Linked DNA regions of Homo sapiens: all the other regions are linked to region 3. Evidence: promoter capture Hi-C in 16 types of primary human blood cells and fetal thymus (Javierre and others, 2016). All regions are on one chromosome and are shown on one strand. The core of a region is centred on a gene start or on the middle of the fragment in contact, and the rest is flanking DNA. Distances in the headings are between cores, read along the strand shown. Region 1 overlaps DOCK11 (dedicator of cytokinesis 11). Region 2 overlaps DOCK11 (dedicator of cytokinesis 11). Region 3 holds the start of WDR44 (WD repeat domain 44). Region 4 overlaps DOCK11 (dedicator of cytokinesis 11).

What was found. Contacts are between HindIII fragments. The CHiCAGO score rates a contact against its expected background, and 5 or more counts as called.
Region 1: a fragment that was not itself captured here is called in contact with the fragment with the promoter of WDR44 in region 3 in 1 of 17 cell types (activated CD4 T cells); the score reaches 5.0 in activated CD4 T cells.
Region 2: a contact is called between a fragment that was not itself captured here and the fragment with the promoter of WDR44 in region 3, in 1 of 17 cell types (activated CD4 T cells). The highest score is 5.5, in activated CD4 T cells.
Region 4: a contact is called between a fragment that was not itself captured here and the fragment with the promoter of WDR44 in region 3, in 1 of 17 cell types (activated CD4 T cells). The highest score is 5.5, in activated CD4 T cells.

The regions. Positions count from the first base shown.
Region 1 is chrX:118,541,976-118,545,088 of GRCh38, forward strand. DOCK11 (dedicator of cytokinesis 11) reads left to right here. Exons shown (of 53, transcript NM_144658.4): 2 at 750-866; 3 at 951-1,040; 4 at 1,536-1,618. Among named protein-coding and RNA genes, the nearest start is that of DOCK11, 48 kb to the left of the region's middle. The HindIII fragment of the contact is 407 bases long and covers 1,256-1,662 here.
Region 2 is chrX:118,558,236-118,561,542 of GRCh38, forward strand. DOCK11 (dedicator of cytokinesis 11) reads left to right here. Exons shown (of 53, transcript NM_144658.4): 7 at 3,148-3,282. Among named protein-coding and RNA genes, the nearest start is that of DOCK11, 64 kb to the left of the region's middle. The HindIII fragment of the contact is 2,676 bases long and covers 386-3,061 here.
Region 3 is chrX:118,344,450-118,347,371 of GRCh38, forward strand. WDR44 (WD repeat domain 44) reads left to right here and starts at 1,657. Exons shown (of 20, transcript NM_019045.5): 1 at 1,657-2,131. The coding sequence starts at 2,055. RefSeq lists enhancers at 888-1,007, 1,198-1,247, 1,789-2,332. The HindIII fragment of the contact is 5,332 bases long and covers 1-2,922 here.
Region 4 is chrX:118,522,857-118,525,800 of GRCh38, forward strand. The region is part of intron 1 of DOCK11 (dedicator of cytokinesis 11); the gene reads left to right. Among named protein-coding and RNA genes, the nearest start is that of DOCK11, 29 kb to the left of the region's middle. RefSeq lists an enhancer at 1,324-1,383. The HindIII fragment of the contact is 2,286 bases long and covers 243-2,528 here.

The DNA of each region.
Region 1 (3,113 bases), core at 209-2,708, 200 kb after region 3:
ATGGGACAGTGTCCCTGGTACAGAGTAGGAACATGAATGTTGATACTTTCTCCTCCAACGTTGCCCAGAGAGTAGTACAGATGCAGTAAATACCAACAGGCACACTTCCAAGTATGCCACTTTTTGTTTTACTTAAAATTCAATAATTTTTAGAAGGCACACAGATTAAGTAGAATAACACAGTTCTATTTCTCCAGAACTTTTTTTTTTTTTTTGGAGAGACAGGATCTTGCTCTGTTGCCCAGATATAAGTGGCACAATCACGGATCACTACAACCTCAACCTCCCAGGCTCAAGTGATCCTCCTGCCTCAGCCTCCCGAGTGGCTGGGACTACAGGCATGGGCTATCACACCCAGCTAATTTTTGTACTTTTTGTTGAGATGGGGTTTTCTCATGTTGCCCAGGCTGATCTCTAATTCCTGGGCTCAAGTCATCCACCTTCCTCAGCCTCCCAAAGTACTGGGATTACAGGCATGAGCCACCATGCCCAGCCAGAACTCTTTATCTTTAGCAAGAGAATGTCTGTGTGTGTGTGTGTGTGTTTGTGTGTGTGTGTGTGTGTGTGTGTATGTGTTTGTGGTGTGTGTCTAGCTATGAAGACTATTTCTCTTGTGAAACTGTCTCAATTAAGTACTTAAAAGTATCAGTAATCCCTTCCTTTGAGAAGTAATGTATCTTTAGTACATAGAAAGTTATTTAACTCTTGTGAGTTTGATCATAATAACTTTACTTTTGTCTCTTATAAAGGAAAAGGCCAAAGTTGTTGAGCCCCTGGACTATGAGAATGTTATTGCCCAAAGAAAAACCCAGATTTACAGCGACCCCCTCCGAGATCTGCTTATGTTCCCAATGGAAGATATATCTGTGAGTTCACAAACACTTCTTTAAAGAAAAAAACCCCTATTTTTCAAGCCAGTTCTTACAGCAAAAATGTTCTTTGTGTTCTAGATCTCGGTGATAGGTCGTCAACGCAGAACGGTGCAGTCTACTGTACCAGAAGATGCTGAAAAGAGGGCCCAGAGTTTATTTGTTAAAGAGGTAAGAGGCTCAAAGGCCACAGAAGAATATTCTTCATATATTTAAAATATATACAGTATTTATATGTCTTTATGTATTTGTAACCTGTTTATAAATACATAAATGTAAAATATTTAAAGTAGTCTTCCTTTAATGTAAAGGTAAAATAAAATAACTAACATTAACTGTCCTAAATAACAAGTTTATATGCTGTTAACAAGTCTATATGATGATAAAGCTTAAACATTTCCACAAGGTGCATATGACCTTAGTGTTTTCCTTTTGGATTTGAATACTCTTTGCACTGAGAGTCAGAGTATTCAAAGGGCATATGAATTGGGATTTATTGCCACCAACTGGGTAAGAGAGACACAGTTAACCCATAAAGGAAGATCCCAGTACTAGTAATTGCCAAATGGTTTTAGAAAGCCTGTCGGCATAGTACCAGAGTTTTAAAAAGTGGATATATATGTACTTTTCCTATATTTCAAATTCAAGATTCCTATTTTCTTTCAGTGTATTAAAACCTATAGCACAGATTGGCACGTGGTAAACTACAAGTATGAGGACTTCTCTGGGGACTTTCGAATGTTGCCATGGTAAGTTTAGCATTCCAGGGAAACATGCAACAGGAGAATTATTAAGCTTTTTTACCTTGTTAAAACCACTTGTGAGGCCGGGTGCAGTGGCTCACGCCTGTAATCCCAGCACTTTGGGAGGCCGAGGCGGGCAGATCACAAGGTCAGGAGATCGAGACCATCCTGGCTAACACGGTGAAACCCTGTCTCTACTAAAAATACAAAAAATTAGCCGGGCGTGGTGGCAGGCGCCTGTAGTCTCAGCTACTTGGGAGGGTGAGGCAGGACAATGTTGTAAACCCGGGAGGCGGAGGTTGCAGTGAGCGGAGATCATGCCATCACACTCCAGCTTGGGCGACAGATAGAGACTCCATCTCAAAACAAACAAACACCACTTGTGAAACCTTTCAGTTATAATTTGTAATAAAGCAAATCTTCAAGGAACCTGCATGTTTGGTTAAATGCAGTGTTTTGGTTAATTGAATAGGTTTTAACTTTCCTCTTTGAAATTCCAAAATGTATGAGAGCTCACTTTTTGGCTTTAGTGAACCTGTATTGATCATAAACTAAAATATAGCTGATGATGGATAATGTAGTGAGCATTTTCCAGTAGTGTCAGTGAAAAAGCTTGATGATAATTAGTTCAGTTTGATGAACCTAGCCATCCCTTGGAAAAAGTGCATCTCTTTCAGTTGAATTGAAGGAATGGCATGAGCACACTGGCCCAGGAGCCAGACTGTTGGGGCTCAAATCTTATTTCTACCACTTACTAGCTGGATGACCATGGCTCAGTCACTTAACCTGTTTGAGCTCTCCATTTTCTCATCTCTAGCACTAATTCCTCACAGGATGTCATATGGGAAATGTTTTTGGAACAAATAGCAGAGGAATAAGACATTTGTTTAGCCTTTTGTAGTTTTCAGAGCACTTTCCAAAAGAGGAGAAAACTGAGTCCTATATGACAGCCTGGTCCTTGGGAAAAAAAAAGAAAAAGAAAAAGAAAACAGAGTCCTAAAATGACCAGTCCAAGGTCATACAGCAAACAAATGCAAGAGCCAGAATTACACTGTTGCTTTTTTTTTTTTTTTTTTTTTTTTTTTTTTTTGAGACAGAGTTTCGCTCTTGTCACCCAGGCTGGAGTGCAGTGGCGCGATCTCGGCTCACTGCAACCTCTGCCTCCCGGGTTCAGGTGATTCTTCTGCCTCAGCCTCCTGAGTAGCTGGGCTTACAGGCACCCGCCATCACCCCCAGTTAATTTTTTTTTTTTTTTTAATTTTTGGTAGAGACGGGGTTTCACCCTTTTGGCCAGGCTGGTCTTGAACTCCTGACCTCAGGTGATCCACCCGCCTCTGCCTCCCAAAGTGTTGGGATTACAGGTTTGAGCCACCACGCCTGGCCTGTGTTGCTTTTTGACCCGGGGAAGGAGAAGTTCTGCCACCACTAACAGCTCTGGCACAGGTTCCTTAGCAACTTCTGCCCTCCCTAAGTTTCTGGGCTTAGTTATGTCTTCGCTGCT
Region 2 (3,307 bases), core at 474-2,973, 210 kb after region 3:
GTGTTGGGATTAGAGGCATGAACCACCGCTCCTGGCCGCCTGTGTGAATTTGAATGAGCTCTTGATCCCTCAGTTTGCTGTTAGGTAAAATGTGGATAATGATACTTACCCCAAGAGGCATTAAAAGAATTAGCTATTGGTTACAAAAGGCTCGCAGCCTTCAAATGACAGGTATGATATAGAGTAATTACCATTATTCTGTATAGTCGTTATTTTAACACCTGTCTTCTTTTAGAAATGTAAAAAATATATATAAACTTATACCCTAAGTAGCTGCATTGTGGAAATTTTTTAAATGTCTAGGAAGTTATGTTTCTGATTTCCCTTTGATTTCCATGAGAGAGATTTAGGATATTCCTTTCTTCTTTGCAAAAGATATCTTAAAAGCTTCTCAGAAGTTGAAACCCAACATATATCATAAAATATTAGAATGAGAAGAGACCTTACAATTTGTTGTTGGGCAGAGTCTGATTTCTACATAGAGATGACTTTTAAAAATATTCCTTACTGTCCAAACTGTGTGTTTCTAGTGTATGAGAAATCACATGGGGAGAGTAGCTTCCAGGCTAGGAAGGCTGCTGTGTTATTTGTTCAAGTTGAATGAAATTATTTGTAGATTGTGGAAAAATATGATCTTACAGATCATCTCGTCTGATGTCATCATTTTACAAGTGAGTAAACTGAGAGAAGCAGAGTCTTGAGGACAATTTCACTGCTGGTTAGCAGGAGATACTGGCTGAGAATCAGTATCATAAGACTTTCAGGCAACTGCTCTTTCTGAGTGCTCTTTCAGGCATCATATTCTCTCCTCAGATTCATAAGCTACCTACCCTAGTGTCACATTTAGATATAATTGCAATGTTAGAGGAAGTGATTTGCTGTAATTTCATATCCCTTTCCATGTCCATTGTAATGATGCACTTTGCTAATATGGGAAGTGGTGGCTGCCACAGAATTTCTTTGCTTGGTGAGGCAGCTGTATGTGAAAAAAAAATTTCTCAGACTATAATTTGACTGTATGCCACAAATGTTTTGCTCTGTATTTTCTCTTCTTCTGCCTCTCTCTTTGTTGCTGGCTGTTGACTCTGCAAGTGGATTCTGTAGGCTGTCCCACTGAAGCAGCAGAATTTCAGTTTTAGATTTGAACAATTCAAATATAAATTTTTTCATATTATTTTTTTCATGTTACTTTTGGCCTGAAAGATGTATTCTAGTTTTGTTATAGATAATTACTGTGATAACTTTAAAAAGCAATGTGTTATACAAAGTTAGTGTTCATTACATGTTATTCATTTGAAATGACCTCAGCATGTAATTTTAAGCCTTCTATTCCCATCATTTTAATGAGAGATGTGAACCATTGTCATGAAAATAAGCAAATAGGCCAGGCAGGGTGGCTCACTTTTGGGAGGCTGAGGCAGAAGGATCCCTTGAGCTCAGGAGTTCGAGACCAGCATGGGCAACATAGGGAGACCTTGTGTCTACTAAAAATAAAAATAAAAATAAAGAAAATAAGCAAACATGCATATATAATCACCATTATGATTAACATTTTCCTTTAATATTAATCTAGATTTCTTCCAGCAAACTTAAATGTAGATTAATTGAATATGAGAATATATGTATATATTCTCACATATATGAGATATGTACATATATGAAAGATATAAATATACCCACACATTCTCTTTCTGTTCCTTTGCATACTAATACAATAACATTTAATTGACTGGCATTGCAAAACAAGCTGATGTTTTCTGCTAGGACTCTTTTCTGTTGATAGCACGTAGCCCACATGGCCCCTTCCCGAGATAGAAGCTGTAGCATTTATCAGTCTAACCTGTTAGGGTATTCCTTACACTGATATATATTTTTGTCATTCATTAAAAAAAATCAATGATATTTATACAAGTCAAAAATAAATATCAATGTTATTTATTTTTACTGGTTTTTCTAAAAAGAAATGTCCCTTAAGGCTTTTATATATTTTGCTTGGTCATGCTATGGAGAAATAAATTGATGTTTCAGGTACTTTGCCAGACGTTAAGTTGTTGGCAAGAACGATCTTGCCAAATAATACTCTTTCCATAATTAAAGTTCTCAAAATGATCAGGGATCATATTGGATAATCAGATGGGTAATTAAAAATGACCAGCTTAAATTTTAAAGCCAGGTTCTTCGAATAAGACAAGATGCATAGGAATGCATTTCCTCAATAATCACCAGGAGCTGCTCTTCCCATCTCACCCTGAAGTGACTTCAGATCTGTCATCCTGGGAAATTGCAACTTGAATAAGCTCTGCCTTTCACTGTGACAATTGCTTGACATAGCCTGCAGTTTGTGACTTACTGAAAGAAGCATCAATTCATCAGAGAGCTCCTAATCCCTTTTCTCACCTCTTTTATCAGACTGTCAAAGTCTGTTTTTAGGGGAGAATAGAGGGACAGCATGAACTCATCAGGCAGTCCCCAACCTTTTCCTGTTCCTGTGGGCTTTGCTGTGAGTTGTAGCAACAGGCTACTCCTTAACTATTGTGAATCCCTAACTCCAAACAAATGGCATAGTTCCATTAGGCCTGTTGATTTAAAGCTCAGCACTTGGGGCACTCGACAACAACTGGCAGGCAACTAATGACTCTGTGCTTCCCTGTGAGTGCCCTGTAAATTGGACTTTCAGAAGCAAAGACAGTGGTACAGTGTAGATGAGTACATGTGTAGGTGAGATGGAAATATGTAATGTGGGTATATGTATATATGTATATATATGCTTTTTATGTTTATTCTTGGATTCGTGGTAATAGAAACCAAATTAAAATGATGTAATCATGGTTTGCAATTAAATGGGAAAAGAATGCTATAGTGAAAGGGTCAGGAGATTCAGATATCAGAATGCTTTATACATTTCAAAGTGTTAAGTCTTAATTATTGTTCTCTAGATATTTGATTAACTGAGGGTAAATCATGTGATTTTCATTCACTATCTTAGAAAAATGAAGATAATGATAATTCCTAACATCTTGTCAGGGTTGTCTGAAGATTGTCCAGGCACAATTGCCTGGCAAGCTTTTGAGGTTTTTAGTTCAGAGAAACTATTCAAATGCAATGTATATGTAACAAATGTATCATTGCTGGGTTTTCCCCATGTAGGTATTCAAGAGACGATATTTTTACTTGACCCAACTTCCTGACGGTTCATATATTCTCAATTCCTATAAAGATGAGAAAAATTCAAAAGAATCGAAAGGTTGCATCTACTTGGACGCCTGCATTGATGTTGTTCAGGTAAGGCCATTGAGGTAATCCTTCT
Region 3 (2,922 bases), core at 407-2,906:
TTTTCTTTGGAAGCCATAAATTCACTATTAGATATCTAGGAAGAGAATACATTCAGGTAGTTAACATCTTTCCATAAATATATATTTCCCTACCTTATATCTGGTATCTTTCCATAATCCAAAAAGAAAACAAAAAAACCTATCTTAGTGAGCAAAACGTTTTTAAAAGTTAGTACTTTGAGTTACATTTTTATACCTAGGAAGTTAATTAACATGTTTAAGACACATAAAACCTAATAATTTTTAGGTTTGACAAAAGTCATACCCTCACAAGGATCCACAAATCCCTTGTCTCCAATTCTGAAACTTCAAAAGCTCTGGAAACCAAGTTTCTGTTTTTTTTTTTTTTTAGTAATTTATTTGACAGTCAAATAGATCTATCTTAAACTTATTTGGCAGAAGCGTCTGACTCAAACTGAATGAGGCTATTTACTTGTATTTATTTATCCCGTATGAACAATCATATATCTTGCTGCAAAAATATTAATATATTTGATTACGCAGTGTTTTCCCTAAACTCCCTGGGGTATTATAGAATATACAGTATATGACATTTGGTTTTTACCCAAGTCCACTAGACCACAGCAGACCTTGCCCTGATTGCTTGACAAAGTCTAGAGCCCCTTTCCAGTTTCTCTGAGACCATACCCCTGGCTCCAATCCAGCCTTTTCTTGAATACTAATTGAGGCTGCACGAACAGCTCAAAATGCCTATCATGATGTCAGTTGGAGAAATAAATATGCTGTGTGATCATACTGAAAGTCAATGTTATCACCTTGATGGTCAATGACCCGTGGTTTAAGAAGGAACATCTCGGTTTTTTAAAAAGTACCTTTCTATTTTTATCACCGGACGCTGGGCAGTTGAGGATCAGAATTAAGCCATTAGCTCGTAGGCTTGCAATGATATCTGCTCAATAAATATTTACCATTTAGCTGACGCACATCTTGGGCAGTATGTAAGAACTTCTCTCACACTGTGTTGGCAGCGACAGACATGTGCGGAGAAAAAGTAACCGGAGGCCTAATACTGGCTCAGCTCCAGCAATAAATCCATCATTACACCATGGAACTGGCACACTCCCCGTGTATATCTCAAGGACCCCACCCTCTGGCCGGCAGGATCATATCTAGGGATCTCAATTAGAGATCTCGTAGTGAATAAGGGCGAGTTATTCTCGTAACGCCAGAGGTGGTGGACCTGCCGACGCCCTAGGGTGGGACATTCCGGGCTTGGATAGTAAGACATCGTAAATATACGCCAAAATGTCCACACCAACGTTTCCCGAGAGTATTTCTTTACAAGTAAAAGACCGACTCAAAATCACCCCTCTCAAAACGCGTCTCTTTGGAACTGCAGAGTTAGGGAGTAAGACTTTCTGCCTGACCCCACCTACGTCGGCCGCGCGCTCTCAGAGCCAGGGCACCACGCTGCTCCTGCGCAGGTCCTAGACTCCTCCCTTCGGGAGGCTCACCCCCTCCCTTCTCGGCTACTTCCGGCCCTCACCGAACGCCCTCAACGCGCTTGCGCCGTTTTGATAGGCTTCTCGGGCCGAAGTAATCGGAGCGCTGCCTCTCTGGAACCGCCCCCGCCACCTCTTCGCCCCGCCCACGTATTACCGCCCCTCCGAAATCTCGCGAGGGTAGGTGCGCGTCGGTATTTTGCGGGCAACTAGCTCTTCCAGCTGCTGTAAATTGCTGCTGCGGGAGAAACTGGAGCCGCTGTAGCCGGCGCGCCCTTCTTCCCTTACTGCGAGGAGCCACCGCCTCTTTCGCGCTCCTTATACACCTATCACTGGGAGCGGTGGCAGCAACATTCCCTGGACCAACCGCCGCCTCTTCAGGCGGCCGCTTTGCCGGTCATTCCCGAAGCCCGGCAACTGAGGGCGGCCCCCTTTCCTTAACAGTCTCCTCGCTACAGATCGTCTGCTCCCTCAGCCTCGCCCGAGACCCACTTCCCCAGTCTCGCCCGGGTGGAGGTCGACGAGGAGGAGACAAGAGTCACCCTTCCTCCAGGCGGCGCCGGCCCCCTCACCCGCGGGTGTGTCCTATAAATGGCGTCGGAAAGCGACACCGAGGAATTCTATGATGCCCCTGAAGATGTGCACCTAGGGGGCGGCTACCCCGTGGGGTAAGTGACTGCAGCTATGACAGGAAGCCGGGCATCCCAAGCCCCCCGCATCTCCTGTGTCTTCCCCCTACACCCCTCCCAGGTCCCGCTGTGTCCGCCACCGCTGTTCCTCCCCGTCTCACTGGAGGACTTCAGAACCCAGACCTGGGGCTTCTTAGGGCGGGGTGACTCGGAGAAGGGGGAGTCAGCCACCTCGGGCAGCCTCCCGGCCGTTTCCCTACTGAACGGTCCCAGGGTCGGTCTCGGAGCCCGTTTCTCTTCTGATCCAGCCTTCTGTGAGGGGGAACAGCTTACGTGCCTGAGTCGGAGATTTGTATCTGTGGGGTTCTGAGCTTACCTTTCAAACATCCGTTTTGGCCTCGGGGACCGTAGATTAAAGGAGCAGTAACAGGAGAAATGTAACTTGTAGTTTTTTATTCTCCCGTTTACCGCTAACTTACCTATTCACTTCAGAGGTGGCTGTAACTCTCCCCTATTTGCCGTCCTCTTTTTCTTGCACACAGCGAAAAGGAGCGGGGGGAAGGTTGGGTATTTGCTTAAGAAAGTCCTCTAGCGAATGTACTCTAGATCAACAGTGTTTTATTAAAATAACACCTTATCGTGAGGTAAAGGAAATCGAATACACGGTCCCTATTAGGCAGAATGCGGTCTAAAAGGATGGCCAGACAGAAGAAATGTGCACAACTGACTGCAGAGGGACAAACAAGTGCTGAGTAATCTGGTGATTGGAAGGAGAGCCCCAGCTTTGTGTTCTTTATCTAATTCTGCAAGATGTTTTAGTGGTGATTAAT
Region 4 (2,944 bases), core at 136-2,635, 180 kb after region 3:
ATTCAAGAGGAGAATTAAACAGGGTGAGTAGACCAGGAGGCAAGAATTCTAGGGGCATCTCAGAATTTGGCGTACTACGCTGACTCTATTTGCTCACTTGGGCAAGTTTCTGACCTCTCTTAATCTGTTTTCCCATTGATAAAATGTGAGTAGTGATAGTATTCTCTACCTCATACAGTCATTGCTAAAATTAAATGAGGTAACGCATGTAATGCATTTCGCATAGTACCTGGTGCTTAGCAAGCTTTCAATAAATGTTAGAAGCATAATAGAGAAGAGTTACATTTCTTCCTCCTGTCCTACATTTTCTTTCATTTCCCCACCCTCATAATGAAATGGCTTTGAGGGTAGGACATATGGTCACATGCTAAAGAAGTTGAGTTTTTGCCCTTAGGATTTGAATTAAATACAAAAAAGAACTTACTGAGCATAAAGGTTGTTTAACATTGAAATTTCTAAGCCATTTGTATGTCTAGGTGGAGACCTTTCTAGAAATATCCTTCTCATTGGATTCTTGGTTAAATGAATGCATGTGCAGCAGGCAGTTCATGGGGTTTTAGGTGTGCTTCCTAGGTAAGAAGATTTTAGGTTATTTACTCTGCTTATGAAAAGACAGTTTGGTAGGTTGGTGATCTGTAATTGTCAATACCTTTCAAAAACAAATCAGTACTTTGTAGAGCGAGAAATTTCAGTTTACAGGACCTGCACTGTGCACTGTGTTTCTCACGTTTAGTAAGGATATTCAACAGTTCAGCCTCACGATAGTCCTGAAATTTGGACTGAGTTTATTCACATAAGCTACTGAGACACAGCCATTTCTAGAGGATTTGAGTATAGTTCCGGGGCTATTCCTAGAAGAAAATGAATATGTATTGCTTTTTCTCATTGCCTGTGTAAATTGATCATACTCAATAATACTTAGAAAACAAACTCCCATGTGACAAATAGTTGGTTCGAAGGCCCATTTTGCAGGGGGGACTGAAGAGAAAGGAAATAAGGGGCAGAGAGACAAGAAGGGGAGTTTGATCCTCCGAGATGGAACTGAACTTGGGTGTCACTTTTCACAATAATTACTCAAGCATTCCTCTCCATTCAGTAGTGACAAATCTGCATGTTTGTCTTCTATGTGAGAAGTTTGGAAGTTTGAGTGTGTAGTTAAGAACCAGCCAGAAACAGAGAGCTGGTAGGGCTGAGGAATCGTATAAGCCTGTAAGATCTATGTCCTCCCCACCCTGCCTGTTTGCCCTTGCTGGGCTCACTACCACACCCAGATGAGTTTCCTTTCTGTGACTGTCATTAGTACACAAGTGCCCCACCGCATTAGCTGCCTAAAAAGGAGCCAAGTTGGGGGACGATTGATGAGTTTGTGACCTCATTGAGAATACCTCAGTTCTTGTTCCTTCACCCACAGAAGGGTAAAAAGGAGGTATTAGGCGTACCTTCTCCATCCATATTTCAGGCTGTCTGTTTGCTCCCTAAAAATTCAACCCATACCTTCTTTAAAAAATAAAGTTGATTACATTAACTTTATTTGTCGGTGTCCTCTGATTTTTTTCTCAAATCAGAGGACACTAACAGGAGAGTAAAAAGGCAACCCACAGAATGGGCAAAAGTATTTGTAAAGCATATATCTGATAAGAGATTAATGTCCAGAATAGATAAAGAACTCCTATAATGCAACAACAACAACAAACTTGATTTAAGTCAGGCAAAGGACTTAAATAGACATTTCTTTGAAGATGATAAACAAATGGCCAATAAGCACGGGAAAAGATACTCAAAACCATTAGTCATCAGGGAAATACAAATGAAAACCACAACGAGATACCACCTCACACCTGTTCTGATGGTTGTTATTCAAAAAACTGGAAAATAAGTGTTGAGGAACACGGGCGGGGCGGACCTGGAACCCTTGTGCATTGCTGGTGGGTAATGTAAAATGGTACAACCACTATGGAAAACAGTTAAGTGGTTCCTCAGAAAGTTAAATATAGAATTACCATATAATAGACTGGGAGAGGTGGCTCACACCTGTAATGCCAGCATTTTGGGAGAGGCAGGCAGATCACATGAGGTCAGGAGTTTGAGACAAGCCTGGCCAACATGGTAAAACCCCATCTCTACTAAAAAATATGAAAATTAGCTGGGCGTGGTGGCGTGTGCCTGTAATCTCAGCTACTCAGGAGGCTGAGGCAGGAGAATCACTTGAACCCAGGAGGCGGAGGTTGCAGTGAGCCAAAATAGCGCCACTGCACTCCAGTCTGGGTGACAGAGCGAGACTCTGTCTCAAAAAAAAAAAAAAGTATTACCATATAACCCAGCAATTCTATTAGGTGGAATTGGGAAATTCTCCCCAAAAGAATTGAAGGAAGGGACTCAGATACTTGTTTCACACCACTGTTCATAGCAGCATTGTTCACAATTGTCAAAAGGTGGAAACAGCCCAGTGTCCCTCAGCAGATGACCAATGGAATATTATTCAGCCTTAAAAAGGAAGGAAATTATGACACATGCTACAATATGCATGAAGCTTGAGGACATTATACTAAGTGAAAGAAGCCAGTCACAGAAAGACAAATTTTATATGATTCCACATATATGAGGTACCTAGAATAGGCAAGTACATAGAGACAGAAAATAGAATAAAGGTTACCAGGGATGGGCGGGGGCGGTGTGGAGGAAGTGCAGAGTTGAATGCGTACAGAGTTTCTCTTTGGGATGATGAGGAAGTTTGGAAATGGGTAATGATGATGATTGCAGAGTAATGTGAATATAGTTAATGCCAAATGCAGACACTTATATAGTATATACTTAACGAAGTATATACTTTAAAATAGTTAAAATGGTAAATTTTATGTATATTTTTACCACAATAACTAAAAAAACCAAATTAAGTTGATTGTATGTTTTGGATTATACCAGCGGTACTTGTTTGTGCTAGAAA